Linked DNA regions of Homo sapiens: regions 1 and 2 are each linked to region 3. The links are contacts of gene promoters, found by promoter capture Hi-C in human tissues and cell types (Jung and others, 2019). All regions are on one chromosome and are shown on one strand. The core of a region is centred on a gene start or on the middle of the fragment in contact, and the rest is flanking DNA. Distances in the headings are between cores, read along the strand shown.

Region 1 (2,700 bases), core at 67-2,566, 180 kb after region 3:
ATGCAACAATGAGAATCAATCTCAGAGTTACTATGCTGAGTGAAAGAAGTCAGAAAACAAGAGTATACAGTAAGTCCATTATATAAAATTCCAGAAAATGCAAACTAATTTATAGTGACAGAAAGCAGAACAGGGTTGTGTGGGTCTGAGAGCTGAGGGAGGAACAGACTGCAAAGAGGAAATGTTCCATATTTTGATCCCGGAGTCACAGGTGTATGTATCTGTCAATTTGTACACTTTAAATGGATGCAGTTTACTGTACGAATAAAATTTTAGTAAAAAGGAAAGATTTTATTCCACTGGCAACAGATTTACACAACAGTAATCTCTATGAACCAAATATCCACTTTTGTGAGTGCTGTTTACATTTGAGGGGACGGGTATGGGAGGAATAGATAAGAAGTTGGGTCAGCCAGGTGCGGTGGCTCACGCCTGTAATCCCAGCACTTTGGGAGGCCGAGACAGGAGGATCACCTGAGGTCGGGAGCTCAAGACCAGTCGGACCAACATGGAGAAACTCCGTCTCTACTAAAAATACAAAATTAGCTGGGCGTGGTGGTGCATGCCTGTAATCCCAGCTACTTGGGAGGCTGAGGCAGGAGAACTGCTTGAACCCGGGAGGCAGAGGTTGCCGTGAGCCGAGATTGCGCCACTGCACTCCAGCCTGGGCAACAAGAGCAAAACTCCATCTTAAGAAAAAAAAAAAAAAAAAAAAAGGTTGGTTTTTTTTAAGTCTCACCCTATCAATGCTATCAATGTTAACACGAAATGTGCCTTTGGGAACCTCTAGGGTACATTAACAGTAACCTAAACCAAACAGCTCTGAATGGACAGGTTTTAGGAATTCTGTGAAATTAAAACTTCTTGCTCACAACATTCTGCTCTCCCTGTATGGAGTGTGGCTAACTGTAGAATTCCAAGAACTAGTAAATAATCCTTTACATTACAACAAATTTTCATTTGTAACACCTGTGGGATAATGTCCTTATTTTATTTGAATTTAATTTAAATTAATTAATTAATTTTTTTTAAAAGACTTGGGGTCTTGCTATGTTACCCAGGCTGGACTTGAACTCCTGTACCCAAGTGATCCTCCCAGCTTAGCCTCCCCCCCAGTAGCTGGGACTACAAGCATGTGTGCCCCTGCCTGGCCTGTCCTTAAATACTCCCTGTTGCTCAGGTTCAATTCACCTAAAAACAATTTAATTTGGTTTTATGAAGGCCTGAAGAAAGTTGCTCAGTTCTGGAACATTATCAGTTCAAAATATTAAGACTAAGGAAAACAAGGTCACATTTTCCAGTAAGTTTTATTTAATCTTTAAAATTCTTGGGTATGCCCCAGGCTAGTTTTTGACAAGACCTCGCAGGGATCCTTAGATGGGTCAATGACAAGCTGAAGACAAAAATATCACCTACTAACACGAACATTACATTCTAAATAATTTGTGGCTATATATTGGGCAAAATTTAGATTTTTTTTCAACTGAGATGTATAGATTTTATCAATACATCAACAGATGTATTGATATGTGAAATATACATCAGGTTTCCCAGATCTTTTTCAGAGCAAACTTTATGTTTCAAGTTCTTACAGTTAAGTTAAATTTCATGACTAATTTTAGACAACGTCTTTTTGGAAGACAGAAGTAAAGCACTGAAGTTCAGGAGTTAGCAGAGGTGAATGAGGTTAAAAAAAAAACAAGCTTTGAAATAATTTTTGCCAAACTCATGACATATGCTTTCAAAACTTTGCAAACAATTTTAAATAGAATTGGAAAAAATCCTAAGAAAACCCTTCATTTCCCTTTTCTAGCCTTAAATACACCCCTTTAAACCATAAATTGACTCAAACTTTAGGGCAAATGTCTAGCAAAACTCTCAGTTCTTTCTGAGACTGCACATTGTAAATATCATAATTTCTTATCATGCAAAGTACCAATGAGATCAGCATGTGTCCAACTCAAGTTCATATATTTAAAAGCTAAAAGGCCACTACAGTTATAAGATTACAATTTCCTGAAGTAGTACAAGGGATATTTTAATAATCTGCTTGTTTTCAGAGGAACATTGTTTTCCAGAGGAAAATATTTTGATTTTTTTTTTCATCTAACTAATGTTTTTCTAAGAGAGGTTTAAAACCCAGGGGCTTTTAAGTGAGAATCATTTCTCAGCCTACCGGCATCAACATTTGACTAATAATGTTAATTTCTTGTCCCATAAGAAATATCTTTCACTGCTTATTGTCCAACTAAGAGACCTCTTTCGTTACTGTTTGGGGCATAAGAGAGCTCAATTTGTGAGAAGTGCTACAGATGACTAGATCTTACAGAAAAAAACTCTGGGAGTTTAAGAAATTAGGCGTAAAGAAGAGGAAGATATATTTAAGATAGATAAAATGGAAATGTTGGTTTGAGCATAAATATTTTAAGGAATTTTACAAACATGTACATATGAATTGAGAACACGGTGCTATATTGGGGAGAGAATACAAGGATGACAACTGGAAATCCCATCCAGAATGCTTGAAGTACAAGGGACTTCACAGATCACTTAATCCAGGCTCAGAGACCAAACGAGTTTCCCAATTAAATGGCATAACACTATAAAAGGCTTAGCATGGTGCCTGGCATATAACAGACACTCAGTTAATACTGGTATCCCCCTTTCCCTATGACCAACCAAGTCACACTCCAGTAAGTC
Region 2 (2,700 bases), core at 1-2,500, 200 kb after region 3:
AAATGCACCCCTGCCCTGTGGCCTGGCCAATAACCTGCTTTCTCCCTGGTCCAGGTAACCTTTTCCTTTGAGGCAGGCCGTCGCTGCGTCTCTGGAGAGGGCAACTTTGAGTTCGAAACCCGGCAAGGCAATGAGATCTTCTTGGCCCTGGAAGAGGCCATCTCTGCCCAGAAGAATGCTGCACCCGCTACACCCCAACCGCAGCCAGCCACAATCCCCGCGTCGCTGCCCCGGCCTGATAGCCCCTACTCTCGGCCGCATGACTCACTGCCGCCGCCTTCACCCACCACACCGGTGCCTGCTCCACGGCCTCGGGGCCAGGAGGGGGAGTATGCCGTGCCCTTCGATGCGGTGGCCCGTTCCTTGGGGAAGAACTTCAGGGGCATCTTGGCAGTCCCTCCTCAGCTCCTGGCCGACCCTCTGTACGACAGCATTGAGGAGACCCTGCCCCCTCGACCTGACCACATATACGATGAGCCCGAGGGAGTGGCTGCCCTGTCCCTCTATGACAGCCCGCAGGAGCCCCGGGGTGAGGCATGGAGGAGGCAGGCGACAGCTGACAGGGACCCTGCTGGCCTCCAGCATGTCCAGCCAGCCGGGCAGGATTTCTCTGCTTCTGGCTGGCAGCCAGGAACTGAGTATGACAATGTTGTACTAAAGAAAGGCCCAAAGTGACAGAGGCAGCAGAGGGATGGTCCACCGCCCCTTGGCTTCTGCTGGTGACTCCTCCTGGCCACTGCATCAGAAGAACCTCCTCTGCCCCTTCTGGAGCCCGAGGCCTGGCCTGTCTTCGTTGGGGCTGATAAATTGCCTCTCCCAGGGCCTGCTGGGTGAGTCACCATCCCAAAGCAGGAAGGGTGCCCTGGAGAGAACCACCCTCCTCCTACTCTTTTTCCACTTCCTCCTCTTTCTTTCCCCAGCTGAGGAGGAACCTGGGGCATTTAGGGCAGAGGACAAAAGGATGTCAGCAATTGCTTGGGCTGCTTGGCTATGCAAGCCTCCTGCCTGCTGATGGCCACTTCAGGGACAGCCTGGGCCCAGGCACCCAGGGGGATGGCGGCAGCTTCCTGCACCTTTCAGATTTCTTGGTGGCATTAAAGCATTTTCAGAACATTTCTGTGTGGCATGAATGCTGTGGGAGTGAAGTCTCCAACTGACCAACCTTGATCACATCCTCTCCCAGCTGCAAGATCCCCCTGGGGCCTAGGCTGAGCCCCAAGCATCTGCTCACAGAGGCCTCTAGAAGTCAGTCAGGGTGCCCTGGGAATAGTGTTCAAGTATGTCTCCCTTTTGCTGGGAGAAGGTCAATGTCAGAAAAATGGTGGGGGAAGCACGGGGGAGCGGGGGGCGAGCCAAAGTGCAAGGAAGGAAATAATTGGATTGATGGAGCCTCTTGTACACCAGGAGTGGGAGTCACCAGGTGTGTGGTCCTGGGCCCTTTCGCTTCCCTGAGATTTCTGCACATCTTCATAAAATGAGGGGGTTGCCCCATGTGGGCAAGGAGGAGCCATCCAGCTCTGTGATTCCCATTGGCTCTGGGTTCCTAGGTCCCCACACACCATTTCCCCACAGGTCAGCCTGTGTCCTTGTGCTTGCTCCTCTTATCAAAACCTGCTTTCCCAGTAGGGTGTGTCCATGGACTTCAGCTATCAACCCAGTCCGCCGACAGCATGGGCACTGTTTGTGGGAGGCTGTAGACTGCATGGCCTGTGAGAGACACACTGCCCAGAAGGGGATGAGATGAAACAAGGCACAGGTGTCTGTCACAGAGTGGGTGTGAGTGCCACAAGGGACCAGACAGGGCCATGAGTGCCAGAGAGGTAACTATTTGTTGGGAGCGCAAGAAAGGCTTCATATCAAAGGTACCATTTAAGGTGGGCATTTACGGGTGGGAAGGAGTTCCATGGAGATAAAGGGGGTGTGAAGGAGCATCTTGGATAGGAATGGGAGTGTAGGTGAAACCACGGGGAGGTACGGATGTGTTGCTTTCGGGACGGAGTTCTACGCTCAGAGTGCGGGTAAGGTGACACAATCTAGTTGGGAAGGCAGATTCTGACTGTATTAAGGGGAATTTGTACCTAATTAGAGGGAAAGGTGGAACGACTAAAGGCTTTTGAACAGGGAGTCCCATAAAAGCTGAGCTTTAGGGCAATAACCCGATAGCCCTGTGGAAGGTGGACTTGGGGTGGGAGGGGGTAGGTTGGGGCTGAATTGAAAAGGGGAAATTCTGCCAGGCACGGTGGCTTACACCTGCAATCCCAGCACTTTGGGAGGCCGAGGAGGGTTGATCATGAGGTCGGGAGTTCAACACCAGCCTGTCCAAGATGGTGAAACCCCATCTGTACTAAAAATACAAAAATTAGCTGGGCATGGTGGTGGGCACATGTAATCCCAGCTACTTGGGAGGCTGAGGCAGGAGAATTGCTTGCAGTGAGCTGAGATTGCACCACTGCACCCTACTGGGTGACAGAGCAGGACTCCGTCTCAAAAAAAAAAAAAAAAGAAAAAGAAAAAGAAAAAGAAAAGGGGAAATTCATCTGGGCACCGTGGCTCACACCTGTGATCCCAGCAACTTGGGAGGCCAAAGTGGGAGGATCACTTGAGCCCAGGAATTCGAAACCAACCTGGGCAACATAGTGATGAGACCGCGTCTCTATAAAAACAAACAAACCAACAAACAAACTTAGCCAGGTGTGGCGG
Region 3 (2,700 bases), core at 34-2,533:
GGGTTGGTGGGCTGCCTGGGGACGGTGCCCAGTGCTGGACAATCCACACAGCTCCTCTCCAATTGTTGTGGCTTCCCAACACCCCTGTAAAAGAAGAATTGCTATGATCCTGCTCTACAAATAAGAAAATTGAGGCCCACAGCTCACCCAGGAGCACAGAGCAAGCCAGTCAGCAGTGGCTGGCCATCTGGCTGCAGGTCCTGAGCTTTGTCCACACCACCAAGCCACAGTCTCCCTAGCAGGGAGGCGCACAAAACTATCAGAGGCAGAGGAAAGGGGTGGCCTCTGCCAGGTGAGGAGCCAGACGGCCTGCTTCGCAGATCCCTTCCAGCTGGCTTTGCCTTCCAGTGCTGAGGTGGGGTGAAGGAGGAAAGGCCGAGCTGGGAGAGGAGCAGGCGCTCGCCACAACCACCCCCACCCTGCTCTCCACGCGCCAGGTCCTGCACGCTGGGTGGGAGGGTGACGACAAGGATGGAGGAGCAGGGCCCCACCCCCGCCCTCCCAGGGCGCACCATCTGCAGCAGAGAGGGCCTTGAGCTGCGTGGGAAATGCGGTAGGCAGAGGGACACTGATGAGGGTGGGCCGGCTGACGGCAGCCTTCTCTCAGCCCCGGACCCCTCCCGCCATCCCCAGCCCTGCCCCCTCCCTCCTTCCAGCGCCTGTCACTCTTCCTGCCCAAACCAAGCATTTAGCACTTAGCCTCGAACCCTCAGCTGACTCCTCATCTAGGACTCCGTCCATCTCTCCAACTATTGCAGAATCTCCTTCAAGGCAGGGGTTTATGTCCCCCACCCCACGGGCCATGTGACATTTATAACTCTTTGGTGGAATGAGAAGAAAGGTATTTGGGATATGATCAACTCCGGCAATGCCATTGTGTGTTTACGGCAACAGCGGGACAGTGGTTCCAGGGGGCGGCCCCGGGCCTCCGTGACGTCACCGGATTGTCGCGTCACCGTCGCCTACCCCGGCGGCGCAACGCGCCCTGCAGGAAAGATGACGTCACCGTCGGAGCTCCTGCAGACCAGTGCGCGCTCGGGGAGTTGGCGAGCGGGTGGCGGCTGGGAGACGTCCCGAGCGCACGGGACTGACAGGCGGCAGAAGCCGGGCGGGGTCCGCTGGGCTCCGGACCCGTGCCCCCCCAGTTCCAGGGCGGCCCCGGGCGGCCCCGCCCCCTCGGTGAATGCCGCGGGCCGGCCAATCCGGGCAGGCCGCGGCGCCGCGCAGCCTATCAGCGGCCAGAGCTCGCGTGCGCTTCCGCGTTCGCGTGCGCTTCCGCGTTCTCGTGAGCTCCCGGCCCGCTGCCGCAGGGACTGGGAGCGGGCTCCGCAGCGCACTCTAGCCCGCGGCTCGGCTCAGTCGGTCTGCGAGGATCCGGCCCGCCGCCCCCCGGGGGACCCGATGGCCTCGGAGGGCCTGGCGGGGGCGCTGGCTTCCGTGCTGGCTGGCCAGGGGTCCAGCGTGCACAGCTGCGACTCGGCGCCGGCCGGGGAGCCGCCGGCGCCCGTGCGGCTGCGGAAGAACGTGTGCTACGTGGTGCTGGCCGTGTTCCTCAGCGAGCAGGTGAGCGGCCGCCCCCGGGCCCGCCGGGCCTCGGGAGCGCGCAGCCAGCCCAGGTGGGGACAGAAGACCCAACGGCCACAGCCAGCGCTGCCGCGTGCGTGGCGCTTCCCAGTTTTGCAAAGCACTCCCACTCCCACTCGCATCTGTGTCCTGCGTTCGTCCCGATATGCAGAAGAGGAAACTGAGGCCCGGGGCCTGTTTGTCTCATCCGACTAGGCCTCATTCCTTCCCTTCCCCAGAGTCTAGCGGAGTGCCCAGGGCCCCTCAGATAGCAGTGGCTCAATCCCGGCTTACCTTCAGGCCTTTGGTGCTGATGCCTGTAGTGGGCGATGTAATGACAACTAGACGGGGCCAGGGCCATAGGGCGGGGTTGTACAGAGCGGAGGTGGGGGTCGTGTTTCAAGCCAGACCCCAGTGTGAGGACCCATCACAGTTTGTAAACCACGCCGTTGGAGGCGAGAGATACACAGTGGCAGGTACAGACGCAAATCAATCCAAGACAGACAGACACATGGTGACCCTCACTCTGGGGCCTCATCTCCAGCCCCTGAAGCGGCTTCCAGGAATCTCAGCCCTTCCTGAAATGGAAGTCTTCCTAAATCCAGAGAGAGACGAATTGCAGAGAGGAGAGGGCTGCAGCCCCCAGCGACACGAGGGCAGGTCTCCTGGAGCGCTAGCTGGGTTGAGAGTGTCCACCCAGAGGGGAGTCTTGGGCGACTGTGTTTGAGATGCCCCCTGGTCCCGGGGCGAGGGAAGGCTGTGGCAGGAAGTGAGGATCCTCTCTCCTCTCAGGATGAGGTGCTACTGATCCAGGAGGCCAAGAGGGAGTGCCGGGGGTCGTGGTACCTGCCTGCGGGGAGAATGGAGCCAGGGGAGACCATCGTGGAGGCGCTGCAGCGGGAGGTGAAGGAGGAGGCGGGGCTGCACTGTGAGCCCGAGACACTGCTGTCCGTGGAGGAGCGGGGCCCCTCCTGGGTCCGCTTCGTGTTCCTCGCTCGCCCCACAGGTATGGCCCACCTGGAGGCAGTGTGAACAGGGCCAGTTGACACCTTTCCCCCAGCTCCTCGGTGAGGTGAGCCCCTCTACAGCCAGTCCTGTTATGGCTGGCACAGCCTGGCATGGGCAGATTCCAGCCTT

Evidence for each region. The method cuts DNA at HindIII sites, captures the fragments that hold promoters and counts their contacts. A contact is called where the count stands out against the background at its distance.
Region 1: a fragment that was not itself captured here is called in contact with the fragment with the promoter of NUDT18 in region 3 in 1 of the 25 tissues and cell types used here (spleen).
Region 2: a contact is called between a fragment that was not itself captured here and the fragment with the promoter of NUDT18 in region 3, in 1 of the 25 tissues and cell types used here (spleen).

Annotation. Positions count from the first base shown.
Region 1 is chr8:21,925,555-21,928,254 of GRCh38, reverse strand. The region is part of intron 1 of XPO7 (exportin 7); the gene reads right to left. Among named protein-coding and RNA genes, the nearest start is that of XPO7, 7.2 kb to the right of the region's middle. The HindIII fragment of the contact is 4,845 bases long and covers 1-2,700 here.
Region 2 is chr8:21,907,286-21,909,985 of GRCh38, reverse strand. It overlaps DOK2 (docking protein 2), which reads left to right. Exons shown (of 5, transcript NM_003974.4): 5 at 55-1,113. The coding sequence ends at 675. Among named protein-coding and RNA genes, the nearest start is that of DOK2, 5.1 kb to the left of the region's middle. The HindIII fragment of the contact is 7,625 bases long and covers 1-2,700 here.
Region 3 is chr8:22,108,002-22,110,701 of GRCh38, reverse strand. NUDT18 (nudix hydrolase 18) reads left to right here and starts at 1,283. Exons shown (of 3, transcript NM_024815.4): 1 at 1,283-1,563; 2 at 2,356-2,569. The coding sequence starts at 1,402. RefSeq lists a silencer at 930-1,709 and an enhancer at 2,169-2,700. The HindIII fragment of the contact is 26,002 bases long and covers 1-2,700 here.